Linked DNA regions of Homo sapiens: regions 1, 2, 4 and 5 are each linked to region 3. Evidence: promoter capture Hi-C in human tissues and cell types (Jung and others, 2019). All regions are on one chromosome and are shown on one strand. The core of a region is centred on a gene start or on the middle of the fragment in contact, and the rest is flanking DNA. Distances in the headings are between cores, read along the strand shown.

What was found. Contacts are between HindIII fragments. The study calls those that stand out against the background at their distance.
Region 1: a contact is called between the fragment with the promoter of VCL here and the fragment with the promoter of SAMD8 in region 3, in 1 of the 25 tissues and cell types used here (dorsolateral prefrontal cortex).
Region 2: a contact is called between a fragment that was not itself captured here and the fragment with the promoter of SAMD8 in region 3, in 1 of the 25 tissues and cell types used here (liver).
Region 4: a contact is called between the fragment with the promoter of NDST2 here and the fragment with the promoter of SAMD8 in region 3, in 1 of the 25 tissues and cell types used here (aorta).
Region 5: the fragment with the promoter of C10orf55 here is called in contact with the fragment with the promoter of SAMD8 in region 3 in 1 of the 25 tissues and cell types used here (heart left ventricle).

Annotation. Positions count from the first base shown.
Region 1 is chr10:73,996,745-74,000,015 of GRCh38, forward strand. VCL (vinculin) reads left to right here and starts at 1,372. Exons shown (of 22, transcript NM_014000.3): 1 at 1,372-1,631. The coding sequence starts at 1,464. RefSeq lists silencers at 981-1,340, 1,671-1,720 and enhancers at 1,401-1,600, 1,673-2,324. The HindIII fragment of the contact is 15,261 bases long and covers 1-3,271 here.
Region 2 is chr10:73,847,038-73,850,009 of GRCh38, forward strand. CAMK2G (calcium/calmodulin dependent protein kinase II gamma) reads right to left here. Exons shown (of 23, transcript NM_001367534.1): 6 at 2,224-2,296; 7 at 1,976-2,078; 8 at 1,489-1,572; 9 at 951-1,045; 10 at 188-310. Among named protein-coding and RNA genes, the nearest start is that of CAMK2G, 26 kb to the right of the region's middle. The HindIII fragment of the contact is 4,404 bases long and covers 1-2,972 here.
Region 3 is chr10:75,109,960-75,113,192 of GRCh38, forward strand. It overlaps SAMD8 (sterile alpha motif domain containing 8), which reads left to right and starts at 1,697. Exons shown (of 6, transcript NM_001174156.2): 1 at 1,697-1,763. RefSeq lists enhancers at 507-1,456, 1,457-2,405 and a silencer at 1,444-1,783. The HindIII fragment of the contact is 21,981 bases long and covers 1-3,233 here.
Region 4 is chr10:73,809,658-73,813,046 of GRCh38, forward strand. It overlaps NDST2 (N-deacetylase and N-sulfotransferase 2), which reads right to left and starts at 1,941. Exons shown (of 15, transcript NM_003635.4): 1 at 1,817-1,941; 2 at 1,142-1,246. It overlaps CAMK2G (calcium/calmodulin dependent protein kinase II gamma), which reads right to left. Exons shown (of 23, transcript NM_001367534.1): 23 at 2,844-3,389. NDST2-ZSWIM8-AS1 (NDST2-ZSWIM8-AS1 readthrough) reads right to left here and starts at 2,163. Exons shown (of 18, transcript NR_182658.1): 1 at 1,817-2,163; 2 at 1,142-1,246. RefSeq lists silencers at 1,376-1,445, 1,746-2,455. The HindIII fragment of the contact is 10,328 bases long and covers 756-3,389 here.
Region 5 is chr10:73,921,290-73,924,426 of GRCh38, forward strand. It overlaps C10orf55 (chromosome 10 putative open reading frame 55), which reads right to left and starts at 1,488. Exons shown (of 5, transcript NR_160938.1): 1 at 1,344-1,488. RefSeq lists an enhancer at 1-178. The HindIII fragment of the contact is 6,339 bases long and covers 1-1,666 here.

The DNA of each region.
Region 1 (3,271 bases), core at 122-2,621, 1.1 Mb before region 3:
TTTGAAGTAAGTAAGACGTTTGGAAGATGTCTTTTTTTTTTTTTTTTTTTTTTTGAGACAGAGTCTTGCTCTGTCGCCCAGGATGGAGTGTAGTGGCGCGATCTCCGCTCACTGCAAGCTCCGCCTCCCGGGTTCACGCCATTGTCCTGCCTCAGCCTCATGAGTAACTGGGACTACAGGCGCCCGCCACCACGCCTGGCTATTTTTTTTGTATTTTTAGTAGATACGGGGTTTCACCGTGTTAGACAGGATGGCCTAGATCTCCTGACCTCGTGATCCGCCCGCCTCAGCCTCCCAAAGTGCTGGGATTACAGGCGTGAGCCATCGCGCCCGGCCTGGAAGATGTCTTATACAAAGCGTGAGGGAACTGGATAATTTGGTCTTACCTATCAAAATATAAAATGCATATACTTTTGCGTTTTTCTCTTTCCTGGTAGGCATTTGCGCTAGATAAATACACAGATGCACAGCACAGGGGTAAGTACAATTCATGCAGAATTGTTTTTTAATAGTGAAAACCAGGACCCAACCCAAGTCCATGAGTAGGAAATTGGTTCTGTAAATAGTTTTATTTCATGCAATGGAATATCATGCAGTCATTAAGAAGAATGAGGTAGACCTCTACCAGCAGTGAAAGATAAGGGCATTTTAATCAAGGGCAATCATACCTAGTTCCAGGAAAATGTTTATTAATCTCATTTAGTTAGAAAATATATATGTAGAAGTGAATCTATAGACAAGTCTAGAAGGCTACACACCCAGCTGTTAAACAGAATGTCTTTGAGGAGGGCAGGGGGCGGAGTCTGCGTTTACGTGAATGGGACGCTGCTGTTTCTCAGTGCACCTCTGCTGTTTGAATCTTTTACTAAAAACCTTCCCATGCATTGCTGGGAGGGAATGGAAGGAGTATTTTGAGGGTTTCGTGTGAAGGGAAAAGTTGAGGAGGGGACGTGGGAGACCCCTTGGTCTCATCAAACTCTAGCGCCGCTTGAGGTGAGGAGACCCCGCCCCGCTGAGGTGATTCTGCAGAGGGGCGGAGCCCCCCAGATCCGAGGCGGGAGGCGGCCCGGGGGCGGGACCAGCCGGCTCCAGCGGCCCGCTCCGCTCCCACCATGCCCTTATAAGGAGCGCCCGGCGTTAGGGCTCGGGAATCCGGTAGCAATCCCGGCGGCTCAGCCCCAATCCCAGGCCCCTCCCTTAGGAATGGGGGAGGGGCGGGGTTTGGCGGCGCGGTGGCTGGGGCGGAGCATCTCGAAAAGGGACCAGTAGGAGTGGCGGCCCAGGTCTGAGCTGCGCTGCCATTGGGCGCGGCGACGAGAGGGGGCGGGGAGCCCGTGAGGCTGGTTACGCCGAGGGAAGCCCCGACTCCGTAGTCGCTGCACAGTCTGTCTCTTCGCCGGTTCCCGGCCCCGTGGATCCTACTTCTCTGTCGCCCGCGGTTCGCCGCCCCGCTCGCCGCCGCGATGCCAGTGTTTCATACGCGCACGATCGAGAGCATCCTGGAGCCGGTGGCACAGCAGATCTCCCACCTGGTGATAATGCACGAGGAGGGCGAGGTGGACGGCAAAGCCATTCCTGACCTCACCGCGCCCGTGGCCGCCGTGCAGGCGGCCGTCAGCAACCTCGTCCGGGTGAGCGCGCAGGGCCTGGCGCGGGAGCGGGCGCGGGAGGTATCCCCGGGGCCCCGGCCCGCGTCGCGGCTGCCTGTGGCCGGCTCGCTGGCCGTGGCTTTCCGCGTGGGTTCCGGAGCCAGGCGCCGAGGGTTCGAATGGCCTCTTCTCCGCCCTGTGACCTTGAGCGAGTCCTGAGCCTCTCCGGGCCTCAGTGTCCTCATCTATAAAATGGGAGCAGTCATGAAAAAGGCTGCCTTGCGGGCTTGTCGTGAAGATATGGCGAGGTATTATTCGTGGAGTGCCTCGCGCGGCGTGTGGCCCACAGCAGACACCCAATAAATGAGAGTTGCTGGGATGTCCGAGGGTCCCTGCCCCGCGCAGGCTTCGCCCCCACGTTGACTTCCTCGCTCTCAGCGCCTTTTAGGCCTCCTCGATCTGGCTGTGCGGGGGAGGGAGAGCGGGCCTTCCCACGGATCCCTTGCCTTCTCTTCTAGGGATCCTTATTTGAGCCACGTTGTCCTCCTTTCTAATACTTCTGCCCCTCACCCTGAGACCCGCCTCGCCCACCCCCGCTCCCCAGAGCTCCCTGTATTCCGCCCTTTTATTCACTTGCCTCACTCTCTGTCGCCTCCTCCTCCCTCCTGGGCATTTTACTTATGCTCACTCCTCTGGCACTCTCACACCTTTATGCAGTCATTCGTGACCACAAGCCCGGTTTTTCCTTCCGCTCAGCCCTGCTGCCCTTCCTTTCATTCCCTCCTGTGGACATTTTCACCTGGCGTTACCTGCTGTCAAACGGCCTCCTCCCACTGGGGCCTTTCTAGACTCGGGGGCCCTCCTTGGCCCCTCCTCCTGGCAGGAAGCAAGATGGAGCTGTTGGGAGAGGCCTGTGGAATCTGGGATCTGCCGCCCCTGCCGGAGAGAAGGCTGGGGCATCCGCTCCCCATCCACAACTTTCCTGGTGGCTCTGCAGACCCCTGTAACCCACAGCTGTGACTCATAACCGAGGTGATTCCTGGAGGAGGTGGAGCCCACGTCTGAAATGGGAAAAAAGAGGTGCTGAGACCAGTCTCCCAAGACTCCCCTGGCTAATGTCACACTTTTCTTTCCCACCCTGGGTGGGTGACTCAGACTGGTCCTGCTTGTGAGGAACAATTTTGGAAAAAGTTCATACTGCTCCCCCACTGAGCTGTGTAAATAGTGTGTGTCAGGGCAGTTGGGCGGCAACTGTGGGTCTGTCTGGGTGGGGCTTGGGTTACTTTTCTGATTTGAGCACTTTAGTGCACTTAGAGGCTCTTTAGCAGCTGAAAGTCTTCCTCAGTCTTCAGGGGTCCCTGGACTGTCTCAAGCAATTTAGGAGACTGGTAGCTAGGAAGACAGGGTGACACCACCGACCAAATTCCTGATCTTTCTTCTCTATAGCTTTAGTAAGAATCTATTCATTCAGTAAGAATGCTGTATTCATTCACAATGTCTACTTGTACATTGTTCTTCTTTTTATAACTAATTTGAACAGAACACTCCAGAGTACATTCTTATGTAGTGTTGTCTAACATGGCTGCATTCCAGGCCTCCATTTTTCAACAAATAGGAAACAATGTAAAGAGACAAGGTAATAGTGTCTCTCCATGTAGTACTTCAGGAAATGAAATCTTAAA
Region 2 (2,972 bases), core at 230-2,729, 1.3 Mb before region 3:
CCATCAGCCTCCCGAGTCTCCCTGGTGACATTTATTGACCCTGGCCCTCAACAGTCCTCTGCCCGCCTGCTCAGTTATTGCTTGGGGCCCAGAATGAATCTCTGCTGGTAAGAAGGAGGGGGTGGTGCCGAGGGCACACAGAAGGCTGACACCCCTGAGCTCCTTGGCCACTAGCAAAGACACTTACACAGACCCACGGGTGCTTGAGAGCCTGGTCAGCCGTGATGCGCTTTGCTGGGTTTATGGTCAGCATCTGGTTGATCAAGTTCTTGGCTTCAGGAGTTACCGTGTCCCATTCTGGTGATGGGAACTAAGGAGCAGGAATAGGGAGAAGAATGTGGTATTGGTGAGCTTCATACCCTGCAACACTGGTTCTGTCTTCAACTCAACTCCTGTAATTGGGATACTCTGTGGTACCTAAAGCTGTGACTGGCAGAGTTGGAGAAGCCCTGCGGCTATTCCAGAACCTGTGTCAACTTAAAGACTTGGAAAGACAGACAGAACAGTCATGTTTAGAATGCCAGAACATCAGATTAGAGCGGGAAGGGGACTCCAACATTCTCTGGTTTAAGCCCAGCTCTATACTTAGGAGGGAACAGAGGCTCAGCAATGTGTCCAAGGTGCCACTGCAGTGGAGGGAGTCTCCAGGCCTTTTGTCCCTGTGTTACACAGCACACCAATGAGGCCGCTCCATTCTTTGCAAGTAAAGATCAAAGGACTTCAGTGGACTCCTCAATTTTAGTTATGAAGAAGGCTGTGCAAAAGAAAGTTGCTCCCTGGGACATAGAGTGGCAAGAATTGGGCCCTGGATGCCCATTCCTGGGTCCTCAAAGTCCCCTGACACCCCCGTATCACGTGACACACTAAACAAGCCTGCTCCCTTGGACAGAGCCCGAGGAGCAAGGACATCTGCCCTTCCTGGCCTGGCTGCCCGGCTCTCTGGTCCTTACATCATAGGCTCCAGCCTTGATCTGCTGATACAGCTTGTGCTGATCCTCATCCCAGAAGGGAGGATAGCCCACCAGGAGGATATACAGGATGACCCCTACGAGACAGAACACACAGGTCATGGGGGTCAGTCGCCTACTTCCCTGAGGAACCAAGAAAAACCATGCAGGGCTCAGAGCCACCTAGAAAGGCAGGGGCCATACCAGAGTCAGAAGTGGATGCCAGCCGATAATGCTATGCTACCAGCCCCTCCTGCTATGCCTCACACTTCACGTCACCAAGTCACACCAGGGATTTCTTTAGGCACAACCCATCCTCTAAGGCGTGGGCAAATCCCTCTCCAAGAAGGATACAATGTCATCCCAGAAGTACGCAGGGAGGAGGGTGTGATGGGAACAGCCATCCCAGGGGCAAACACCATAATTTCACATACACCAGGCACGTGTGTGACCTGCAAGGAATAGCGATGCCTCTTTCTTGCCATCATCGGAAGTTGAGGGCCCTTAACAGCGAAAAGCTGAGAGCGTGGAATGGGCTTACCGCAGGCCCAGATATCCACAGGTTTTCCATAGGGATCTTTCCTCAAGACCTCAGGGGACAAGTAACCTGGGGTGCCAGCAAAACCTGTAGCAAAAGAGAGGGCAGAGGCATACTGAACCCACTTTCTCTCTCGTTAAATCCACACCAGCCATTTCCCCCAAGTCCCATCTTATTCCTGCTGCTTTTGCTACATAAACTCTCAGCACATGGGCAGCAAGAGCTGACAGGCTGGGCTTCTTGTAGCGCCTGGAATCTGAACCAGACGGCAAAGCCGTATGCCTACCAGGAACTCCAGCTCCTTCCCACAGGCAGCAAGAAAGCAGTGCTGACAACAGCTAGACTTACTGTACTGAGTCGCGTACGGCCAAGAGAGATCTCGGAGGCCAGGACCATTAAGGGTCTGGCTTCTAGTTCTAATAGAGGAAGGCAGATCAGGAAGAGGAGGAAGGGCGGGGGCTGCATTCCGGGAAGACAGGATCACCCTTACCAAACCAAGCCTGCTGCTCTCCCTGTACTTCGATGGCTAGGCCAAAATCAGCCAGCTTGACGGCGGCACCCTTGCATTTACTCGCCAGCAGCAGGTTCTCAGGCTGCAGAAGAAACACAGAGAACCTTGTGAGCACCCACCCTGCAGCCCAGAGGAAGCCTAGTTTGGGCCTACGCAGTACCACTATCTGGCACCAGGTGGCGCCAACACTTCATGAGCAGAGGCACGGAGGGGAGCCTGGGTAGTACCTTCAGGTCCCTGTGGACGATGTCATGCTGGTGGATGTGGTTAACACTCTCCAGAATCTGATGTATACAGTGGCTAAAAAAGCAGAAGGAAAAGAAATGTTAGCGCAGGGTTAAACCACCTCATCCACATCCACAACCACATGCTGCAGACTAAGGCATGTGACAAGGGGCCACGGATTCACAGAGAATCACTTAACGGCCACTGGAACCTTAGACTCTGCACATCATCTTGTTCAACCTATTTAAAGAAAGAGGAAACCGAGGCCCAGGCAGATGCAATGGTTTTTCTAGGATCACCGCTAGAACGGGTTCCTCTCACCCCCTTTTGACTGGAAAGGTCTAACACAACCAACTCATTTCCAAGAGATCAGGAGACAGCCCAGAATCCTGAGGAAGAAGAGAGCATCCAATCCCTTCCTTCTTTCTCTTTCTCCATACAGTAACTTTGTTCTTGGAGAAGAAGCTTGTGCTGGCAACTTAGGAAGGAGAGTCCAACTAAACAACCTAAGCTACTTTGGCGGTGGGTGCACTCATTCATTTCCCTAAATGTTTATTGAGTGCCTAGGATAATGAAGATGGACAAGACCCAATAGCTGCCCTGAGGTCTGGCATCCAGTAAGGCAGCTAAAACAAGTACAAAGATACCTTTAAGAAACAATGTACTTAAGAGCTTCCAAACAGGGCATTTAAGGAGCACTTCTGATGATTTTGCGTAGAGAAAAAAACCCAAAGTTATTTTATTATTTTAT
Region 3 (3,233 bases), core at 447-2,946:
GGCATGTGCCACCATGCCACACTAATTTTTGTGTTTTTAGTAGAGATGGGGTTTTGCCATGTTGGTCTGACTGGTCTTGAACTCCTACCTCAAGTGATCAGCCTGCCTCGGCCTCCCAAAGTACTGGGATTACAGGTGTGAGCCGCCGTGCCGGGCCAATGGGGCAAGGTTTGAACAATGGTCCTGTAGTGAAGATGGCTAACTTCTCAGAAGAGAAGGCTGAAGAGGGCCTTGTATGTCAAATGGGGAGACGGGAGGTGAGTGTTGCCCTAGACTTTGAGAGCCAAAGGGGCTAACTGTCATCAGAAACAGTGGGAGGGAGATTCCTCTGCCTATAAGGGCTTTGGGTCCCAAAATAGAAACTGAGAAAGGTCAACCTGTCCTTCTGCCAGAGCTGGTTATCAGCAAGAGAGATGAGATGTCTCACCCTCTCTCATGTGACTTCTCAGTGGCCCTAATGGAGCTGGGAAGGGTATGAGCTGCAGTGGGGAGGTTCCCAGCTGCCCTTGGCCTTAAGACCAGTTTGAAGGGAAAGGCCACACCAGGGCATCCCATGGAAGCAGTCTACACTCATGTCTATCCCATTCAGAACCATTGAAGTCGGCCCGGCACTGTGTGGGGAGGCAAGACCAAGGAGGGGCTCGTGTCCAGGTTACAGCTGGGTTTGGACTTGGTTTATGCCAATGCTAGACCTGGCTTGGGAGGAGACCTTCCCTCAGGGTGGTGCAGCATGGTGGAGTGAGGAAAATACAGGATCTGATGTTAGAGAGATTTGGGTTGGAATATCAGTTTGCAATATGTCAGGCAGTATGTTTCTTTACTTTTCTGTGCTATAGGATCCCCCTTGCAGAATTAGCACTAGGATTTTTTTTTTGAGATGGAGTTTGCTCTTGTCGCCCAGGCTGGAGTGCCATGGCGTGATCTCGGCTCATTGCAACCTCCATTTCCCGGGTTCAAGCGATTCTCCTGCCTCAGCCTCCCGAGTAGCTGGGATTACAGGTATGCACCACCACGCCCGGCTAATTTTTGTATTTTTAGTACAGACGAGGTTTCCCCATGCTGGCCAGGCTGGTCTCGAACTCCTGACCTCAGGTGATCCCGCCTCAGCCTCCCAAAGTGCTGGGATTACAGACGTGAGCCTCCGCTCCCGGCCTTAGCACAAGGATTAAATGAGATGTTTATATGGCGTTTGGCATAGACACTGTCAAAGAGTAAATGGGCAATAAATTATAACAATGATCATTGGGGGCTGGCTATTGGAGAAGAGCTGGCTCTCTCCAGAGGAATTCGGATTACCTCCTTCTAGGCCCTAACCCCATTTACTGATCCCACAGGCCCCGCCCCGGCTCCGCTAGCCCCGCTTCCTCCTGTCGCTTTGGCCTCCGGCATGACGCATGCGCCCTCGGGCTCCTCCGCGGCAGCATCTCGGTTCTCCTCTCGGGCCCATCTGGAGCCTCGCGTCTTTTCCAGTGTGGGCCCCGCCCCCTGCCGGTAGAACCCCGTCCCCGGCCGGTAGGGCCCCGCCTCCCGAAGCAGTTCCGGTTCGGCTCCGAGCAGCTGCCGGCGCGGCGGTGACGGCGGCCGGGACGATGCCTGCGCGCAGTCGCCACCGCCCCCGCCTCCACTCCGGCTCCCCGCCCCGGGCTCCGCCCCCGCCGCTTGAGGCGCTTCACTCCGGCGAGGCGGGGAGGGCCCCGGACTCCGACGGCGGCTCGGACGCCGACTCGGAGGTGGGTCCGGGGAGCCCGACTCGGACCGCGGAGGTGAGCGGGAGCTGAGGCTGAGGAGAGGGGAGCTTGGGGGGCGCCTGCTGCCAAGGGTGAGTGGGGAGTCTGGGATGGAGCCGGGGGCTGCCGAGGGACCGCGACCTGGAGGGGCCCCGGGGAGACGGTTGAGGGAACCGGGATAGTCAGCTCTGGAATGGAATCTGAAGCAAATGGAGGTTGTCGAACTGAGGGCCTGAAGGCTGAGGGATAAGTGGAGGCCGAGGAACGAGAGGGAGAGAGCGAGAGGGGGAGGCTTGAAGAGCCCAGAGCTTGGGGGCTTTTGAAAGCTGCGCAGTGGGGGAAAAAGATCGAAGGTCCTGCGGGAATGTGGACCCGGAAGAAGAGATGCTCTGGGTTTGGCAGCGGGGATGAGGAGTCAGAGGAGCAAGACCTGGGCCGGTGTTCCCTTCCCAGGGCGAGGGAGGGCGATCGGGGCTGGGACTGGAGCCCTCTCATGGGGTTCTCCTCTTACGGAGCCCTCTTATCCGCCTCCCACCCCGGGTGGGGCTGGTGGTGATGGAGGGCAGGATTTAGGTTTGACTAGAAGGAGGAGGGCTGTTGGATGGGAAATCGTCTGGCCTCAAGGGGTGAGGGAGGCACTGAAAAAGAGAAGTGTGGTCAAGAAAGAAAAGGAGCCCTTGGGGATCTAATTTTGGGCTTTGGCATTTTTACAGGTGCCTTTTAAAACATCAAAGATCACTAGGGCAATGTACTTGGATCGTGGGGCTTTCTCGTTCGTGCACAGTGGATCATTTTAAGAATCTTGGGTGGAAGGGGCGGTGTGAATCACTGATTTGCCTAAAGGACTGGGGGAAGTAGTGGAGAGGAAGTGATGTTTGAAGAAGGTAGTGGAAGACGTGATTCTGAAAATGAAGATATCATTTGGATTTATTGACAGTAATGGTGTCCTTTTTTTCATTGTAATTTTTTCGTAGCTAAGTTTAAATACCAGACATGTTAAGATCCTAAAAATTTACTATATTACCTTTAAGTTTTAAAAACTTGAAACAAGACTTTGGATACTCAGATTTTAAAAATTAAACTTGAAACAAGAATTTGGACACTTGGATTTTACAGATACTCAACATGGACTGGTTCCACTTTCAAAGTTTTAAGTTGACACATGTATTTGCCACATAGTAAATGTATGGTCAATGCAAGTTTCTGGGTGAAGGGGGCACAGTGAACTTGCCACAGTCTAGGCGCAATACCAAATCTTCCTCTCACTGATAACCCCAGGATTGGACTTATCTCTTGAAAATTGGAGAGGTACCTTTGACTGATTGGCAAAACCAATATTGAAATACTATTTTGCAGGTATTGTGTGAATAGTATTTTTAGTAGAGTGATTTGGAAAAATAAGGACAGAGGATGCTTGTAGTTGGCAGCCAACACAACTGGGACAGGTGGGTATACAGATGCTTTTTATAGAAGACATAGTTCCAAAACATAATTATGCCAGAAAAA
Region 4 (3,389 bases), core at 691-3,190, 1.3 Mb before region 3:
GTCACATCCAACCAATGACAGAAGGAAAAAGGACAGTGTGATCAGAAAACAGTTTTAAGGAGGTCTAATTTTGGGGATCTCTTTTATTATTTTTAGATGGAGTCTTGCTCTGTCACCCAGGATACAGTGTGCTAGTGTGATCATAGCCTACTGCAGCTTCAAACTCCTGGGCTCAAGTGATCCTCCCACCTCAGCCTCCCATGTAGCTGGGACTACAGCTTTGCACCACCACACCCTACTAATTTTTAATTTTTTTTAGAGATGGGGGTCTTGTTACGTTGCCCAGGCTGGTCTTGAACTCCTGGGGTCAGACAGACAATCCTCCGGCCTCAGCCTCCTGAGTCTGTTCTTTTTCTTAAATCGACTGCTTCTGTAAGCTTTATTGTCACTATCCCCACTCAGCCTCCTTGTAAGGCTGGCAATCCCTCTCTACCACCCACCCCCAAACACACATCTCAGGGGTGATAAGGCAGAGCTGAGGTCCTTCAGAATTGACAGAGATGATTTAAAAACAGTTCAGGACAGGCGTGGTGCCTCACGCCTGTAATTCCAGCACTGTGAAAGGCCGAAGCGGGTGATCACTTGAGGTCAGGAGTTCGAGACCAGCCTGGCCAACATGGTGAAGCCCCGTCTCTACTAAAAATACAAAAATTAGATGGGCATGGTGGTGGGCGCCTGTAGTCCCAGCTACTCAGGAGGCTGAGGCAGGAGAATCACTTGAACGTGGGAGGCGGAAATTGCAGTGAGCTGAGATTGTGCCACTGTACTCCAGCCTGGGTGACAGAGCTAGACTCCAGCTCAAAAAAAAATAAAAATAAAAATAAAAATAAAACAGTTCAGCTTTGGCCTAGGTAAAACGACACGAGAAGACAGCTGGGGGAGAGGATCAAAATGGTGACGGGAAGGGGTGAATGCTAAGAATGTGATGCAACTTTAGAGAAAACATTGTAGTGAGGAGGTCACTGACGGGAAGTTGATACTCAGGGTGTATCATCCCGTATTTGAGAAATTACAACTTGCCAGCCATTCTTCTAAGAGCTTCACATATATTTAATCTTCACACCAGCCCTAAGAGGTAGGGAAAAGGTACATGCTCCATTATCCCCATTTCACATATGAGTAACTCAGAGAAGCTTAGAACCTTGCCCAGGATCACACAGCTCAGTTGGTGGGAGGGCTGGGATTCGACGTCAGGCCTGTCAAGCTCCAGAGCCGCGTTCTTAGCCGCTGCATTTTAGCTTCATACCTGGAAGAAGCAGCAAGGTTTAGGGAAGGGGCGCCGGGAGCGCCGCAGGCCGGGCCAGTGAACACTGAGGGCCAGCAGGGCTGGGCGGGGTGGGTGTGTGCGGGAGATCTCTGAGGACGGCGAAGCCAGACGGGGGCCGGGGCCGGGCCCGGGCTTGGGGAGGCCGGGACGGCCGGAGCAGCGGCGCGGAGGCTGCGGGCGCCGAGGGGGCCCGGGGCTGGCGGGTGGAGGGGCCCCGCCGAGAGGAGACGGGGGCACAGGTGGATGCGAAGAGCGCACCGGATGTGGGACACCAAAGGGGAAGGGGCCACAGGCGCGCGGCGGCGACTCCGGGGTGACATCGAGACAGCCTCTGGGCTGGGAGAGCCCTGCGGGAAGAAGGGAGCCCGCCCGGTCCGGAGGGGAGCGAGGCGGTTCTGAGGGAGGCCGGCGGAAAGGACCCGGGGCGCGGCGCACGCTGGGCCGCCCGGGACGACCCTGCGGGTGGTGATGGTGGCAACATCCAAGGGAGTCTGTTGGGGGGGCCTGAGCGCGACCGTGGGCGGGGGGGTCTCCTCAGGGGCGGCTCACCCGGAGGACTGGGCGGCGTCCCCGCTGTCCCCGGGCTCCGCCGCGTCCCGGGGCTGCCCGGCTTCCCTGCTTTCGGGGCCACGGGCCGCGTCGCGGCTGCTCCGCCATCTCCGAGCGAACGCTCTGCCGCAGCCTGGCCCAACCACCGCTCCCACCGGGGGAGGCGGCGCGCCGCCGCTGGTGGCACCCGCTCGGATCCACCGGCTCCGGCCCTAGCAGCCGCGCGACCTGGGTTCCGGGAAATCAAGCGGCCCTCCGCAGTGCCGGGCCGAGCCGCGGCCTCCGAGACGGCGGGCTCCGCGCCCCGCCCGCGGAAGCGCACCCCCTCCTCTCCGCGCGATGGCACTGCCGGCCGAGCGTCGGGGACCACGACTTCGGAGCAGGGGCGGGCTCAGGCCTGGGCTCATCCACTCAGCCCCGCGGAGGGGGAGCCGGGCCGGCCCACTCGGGGGAGGGGAGGAGTAAGAGGCGGAGCGGCCTAACCGGAGGCGGGACCAGGGGCGGGGCGAGGCCCTCAGCCGGCTCCCAGGGCACTCACCCTCCCTCCCCGCCCCGCGTCGCCTGCGCAGCACCGAGCGCTGTTTGGAGGCTGTTTATGAGAAGTTTTTTTTTTTTTTTTTTTTTTTTTTTTTTTTTTTTGAGACGGAGTCTCACTCTGTCGCCTGGGCTGGAGTGCAGTGGCGCGACCTCGGCTCACTGCAACCTCCCCCTCCCAGGTTCAAGCGATTCTCCTGCCTCAGCCTTCCGAGCAGCTGGGATTACAGGCGCCCGCCACTATGCCCAGCTAAATTTTTTGTATTTTTTAGTAGAGACGGGGTTTCACCATATTAGCCAGGCTGGTCTCGAACTCCTGACCTCGTGATTCGCCCGCGTCGGCCTCCCAAAGTACTGGGATTACAGGCATGAGGAAGTTTTATTCTCAAAAGTACCCAAAGGGAGTAGGAGGAGGTACTCTCTCCAACCTGGTAAGCCAGGCTGCTAAAATCTACGCCTCTGGCCGTAAACCTCCAACAGCAGTAACACAATGGACTGTTTAAAGGTTATTTTATTAAATATTTTCAGTTCAAGGTTTCATTGTAACAAAGCTATGAAGGGTCTACCAACATTCAGAACAAACACTATTTTTAAATTATTTCTATGTTGTCATGCAAAAATTCTGCATCAAATGCCTTCCGTTTCTTGTTTAAAAGGTGATTTTTTAATAGTCTATTGTCTATAGATGCTGACATTAGCCCCAGAAGAGGAGTAAGAATGCTAAGAAGTGGGGCTGGAGCAGCCATATGAAGCTATGGGTCTCAATGAATTCTAAGACCATTTGTCTTCAAGCCAGCAAAACGAAACCCTGTGGTGAAGGGATTTGCGTGCTGGCACTGCAGACTGCAGGGCAGGAAAGGGCTAGGGCCCAGGGGCTGGGACATGCATGAGGTGCTCGGAGGAGCCTGGCTAAATCCAAGCACCAGCACCTGTGAGTCTGCTCTCTTCTCAGCTGGCTCCCAAGTAAACCTGTAGCTTTGCCTCTTCTCCCAGCTCTCGTGCCTCCTGAAGGTAGTCCAGGGAACTGGAATCTACCCAC
Region 5 (3,137 bases), core at 238-2,737, 1.2 Mb before region 3:
CCATCTCCAGAGTCCTCATGCGCGGTACTAGGATTTATCACCTCTCAGGAGAGTCCAACTAGGGCAAAAGGAGAGCAGCCCCCCTTTCAAGCTTTCTACTTTATGGTTGCTGGGTTTCTAGGCAACAGCTATCAGAATTTTTTTTTTTTTTTTGAGACGGAGTCTCACTCTGTTGCCAGGCTGGAGTGCAGTGGCGTAATCCTGGCTCACTGCAACCTCCGCCTCCCGGGTTCAAGTGATCCTCCTGCCTCAGCCTCCTGAGTAGCTGAGATTACAGGCACATGCCACCACGCCCGGCTAATTTTTGTATTTTTAGTAGAGACGGGGTTTCACCATGTTGGCCAGGATGGTCTCGGTCTCTTGACCTTGTGATCCACCCGCTTTGGGCTCCCAAAGTGCTGGGATTACAGTTGTAAGCCACCCGCCCAGCCCAGAATTTTTTTTTTTTTTTCCATACACAGTCTTGCTCTGTCGCCCAGGTTGGAGTGCAGTGGCCCATCTCGGCTCACTGCAACCTCTGCTTCCCAGGTTCAAGCTATTATCCTGCCTCAGCCTCCTGAGTAGCTGGGATTACAGGCGTGCACCACCACACCCGGCTAATTTTTGTATTTTTAGTAGAGACGGGGGTTTCACCATGTTGGCCAGGCTGGTCTCAAACTCCTGACCTCGTGGTTCACCCACCTCGGCCTCCCAAAGTGCTGGGATTACAGGCGTGAGCCACTGCGCCCAGCCTCATCTATCAGAATTTTAATCCTCTCCTAGATAACAATTCTTTCCTCCTAGAAGATTCCCAGGCCAGATGAGGAGACCACACTCAGCCATTGGTTTCAAAGTAAAACTTCACTGTTCTCACAGTAACCTCAGCCTTTCTGCTGCAATCTGGTTTCATTGAAGTGGTTTCCGTTTTCACCAGAACCCCTCTTTCTGAAGTATTCTCAGCCCATTATATTAACAGCACTCAGCCTGCTTTCCACGTATGCCCTATCTTTCCCAAGCTGACCACAGCAGCACCCCTGCCTATACCCCTCCATACTCACTCCCATTGGGTCCACCTTCCTTCCAAGAAGGAAACATTTAAGCCCTCCCTTTGAATTAGATGAAGTAAGAGGAGTTGCTGAGGTGTTTTTTAAAAATCAATTCTGGGCTAGGTGCAATGGCTCACACCTGTAATCCTAATACTGTGGGAGGCCTAGACGGGAGGATTGCTTGAGCCCAGGAGCTCGAGGCTGCAGTGAGCTATGATTGCACTACTGCACTCCAGCCTGGGTGACAGAGCAAGACCCTGTCTCTAAAGAAAAAAAATCAGTTTTATTGAGATATAATTCATATATCATACAACTTACCCATTTATTCTTTCTCTTTTCTAGAGACAGGGTCTTGCTCTGTCACCCAGGCTGATCTCAAACTCCTAGGCCAGAGTGATCCTCCCACCTCAGCCTCCTGAGTGGCTGGAATTACAGGCTCATACCACCACGTCTGGCACCATTTGAAGTGTACAATGCAATGGTTTTTAGTAGATTCACAGAATTGTGAGACATCACAATCAATTTTAGAACACTTCATCACCTCACAAAGAAATCCTGTACCCACTCACAATCACTCCGTTTTTCTCCCCAACCCCCTCAGCCCTAGGCAATCACTAATTTACTACTTTCTGTCCTCTCTGTGGGTTTGCCAATTCTGGGCATTTCATATCAATAGAATCCTATAATATGTGGTTCTTTGTGACTGGCCTCTTTCACTCTTAACATGATGTTTTCAAGTTTTATCCATGGCATAGCATGTGTCAGTGAGGTTGCTGAGTTTTAATAACAAATTGAGGGAAAAGATGGTCTAGGCGAGGTGCAGTGGCTCACATCTGTAAATTCCAGCACTTTGGGATACCAAAGTGGGAGGATCCCTTGAGTTCAGGAGTTCCAGAACAGCCTGGGCAACATAAAGAGGCCCCATCTCAAAAAAAAAAAAAAAAAAAAAAGGATGTTCTAGGTCTCTTTTTGAGGTTTCAGTCACATTGAGATTCATTCAACAATCTTTGTCATTTCTTTCTTTCTTTCTTTTTTTTTTTGAGATGGAATCTCGCTCTGTCGCCCAGGCTGGAGTGCAGTGGCGCAATCTCGGCTTACTGCAATCTCTGCCTCCCAGGTTCAAGCAATTCTCTGCCTCAGCCTCCCGAGTAGCTGGGATTACAGGTGCCTGCCACCATGCCCCACTAATTTTTTTCTATTTTTAGTAGAGACGAGGTTTCACCGTCTTGGCCAGGCCGATCTTAAATTCCTGACCTCATGATCCACCTGCTTCGGCCTCCCAAAGTGCTGGGATTACAGGCATGAGCCACTGCGCCCGGCCCTTTGTCATTTTTTTAAAGTACCCATACACAGGACATTATTTTAGATACAAATGAGGCAGTCCTAGTCCTCAAGGAGCTCACCACTTTGCAAAGTGCTATACTAAGTCTGCATAAAATGCATGGAAAAATAATGAAGAAGCAATTGATTCTGCCTGGTGAAGTCAATGACGACTTTACAGAAGAGGTGATATTTTACCTGGACATTCAAATACACACAGAAATTTGCCAAACTAGAAGAAAGGCATTGTAGGCGTAGGGAAGTTCATGGAGGCATGAAAAGGTGAGGTGTTCTAAGGAAATGAGGAATAGTCCATTGTGGTGGAGAACTCTGGGGGGCAATGAGTAGGTGGAGATGGTGGGGAAGGATCTGGTGGGATCCAGCTGGTGATGACCCTGCTGCAGGACTGATTCTCAGCAGCAGGCACTGGTTCTGCTCAGTGACTAAACAGATGCTGTCCTGAGATCCTCTCCGCGTGGCCCCTGCCATCAGCCTCTCTCCACTTCTTCATGATCCAGCAACCACAGGGTTAATGCCTGTGGCACAGCAAAGGCCTCTGAGATCCTCCCTCCTCCAGCTGGCTCAGGCGAAAGTGTCCTACTGGGGTATCTTGATAGTTAAATATTTTGACTATCACCTCTTGCCCTCAGGCACTATTTTTCAAAATCCAGAAAGTGAATTAAGTTCTAGAAGCCATAAAAAAATTGGCTTTTTAAACTAAACATTTTTATTCAATTGTAAAAGTAGCTACAAATGTAAAATACTTTCATAGCATTCCACAGCCATTGTTAA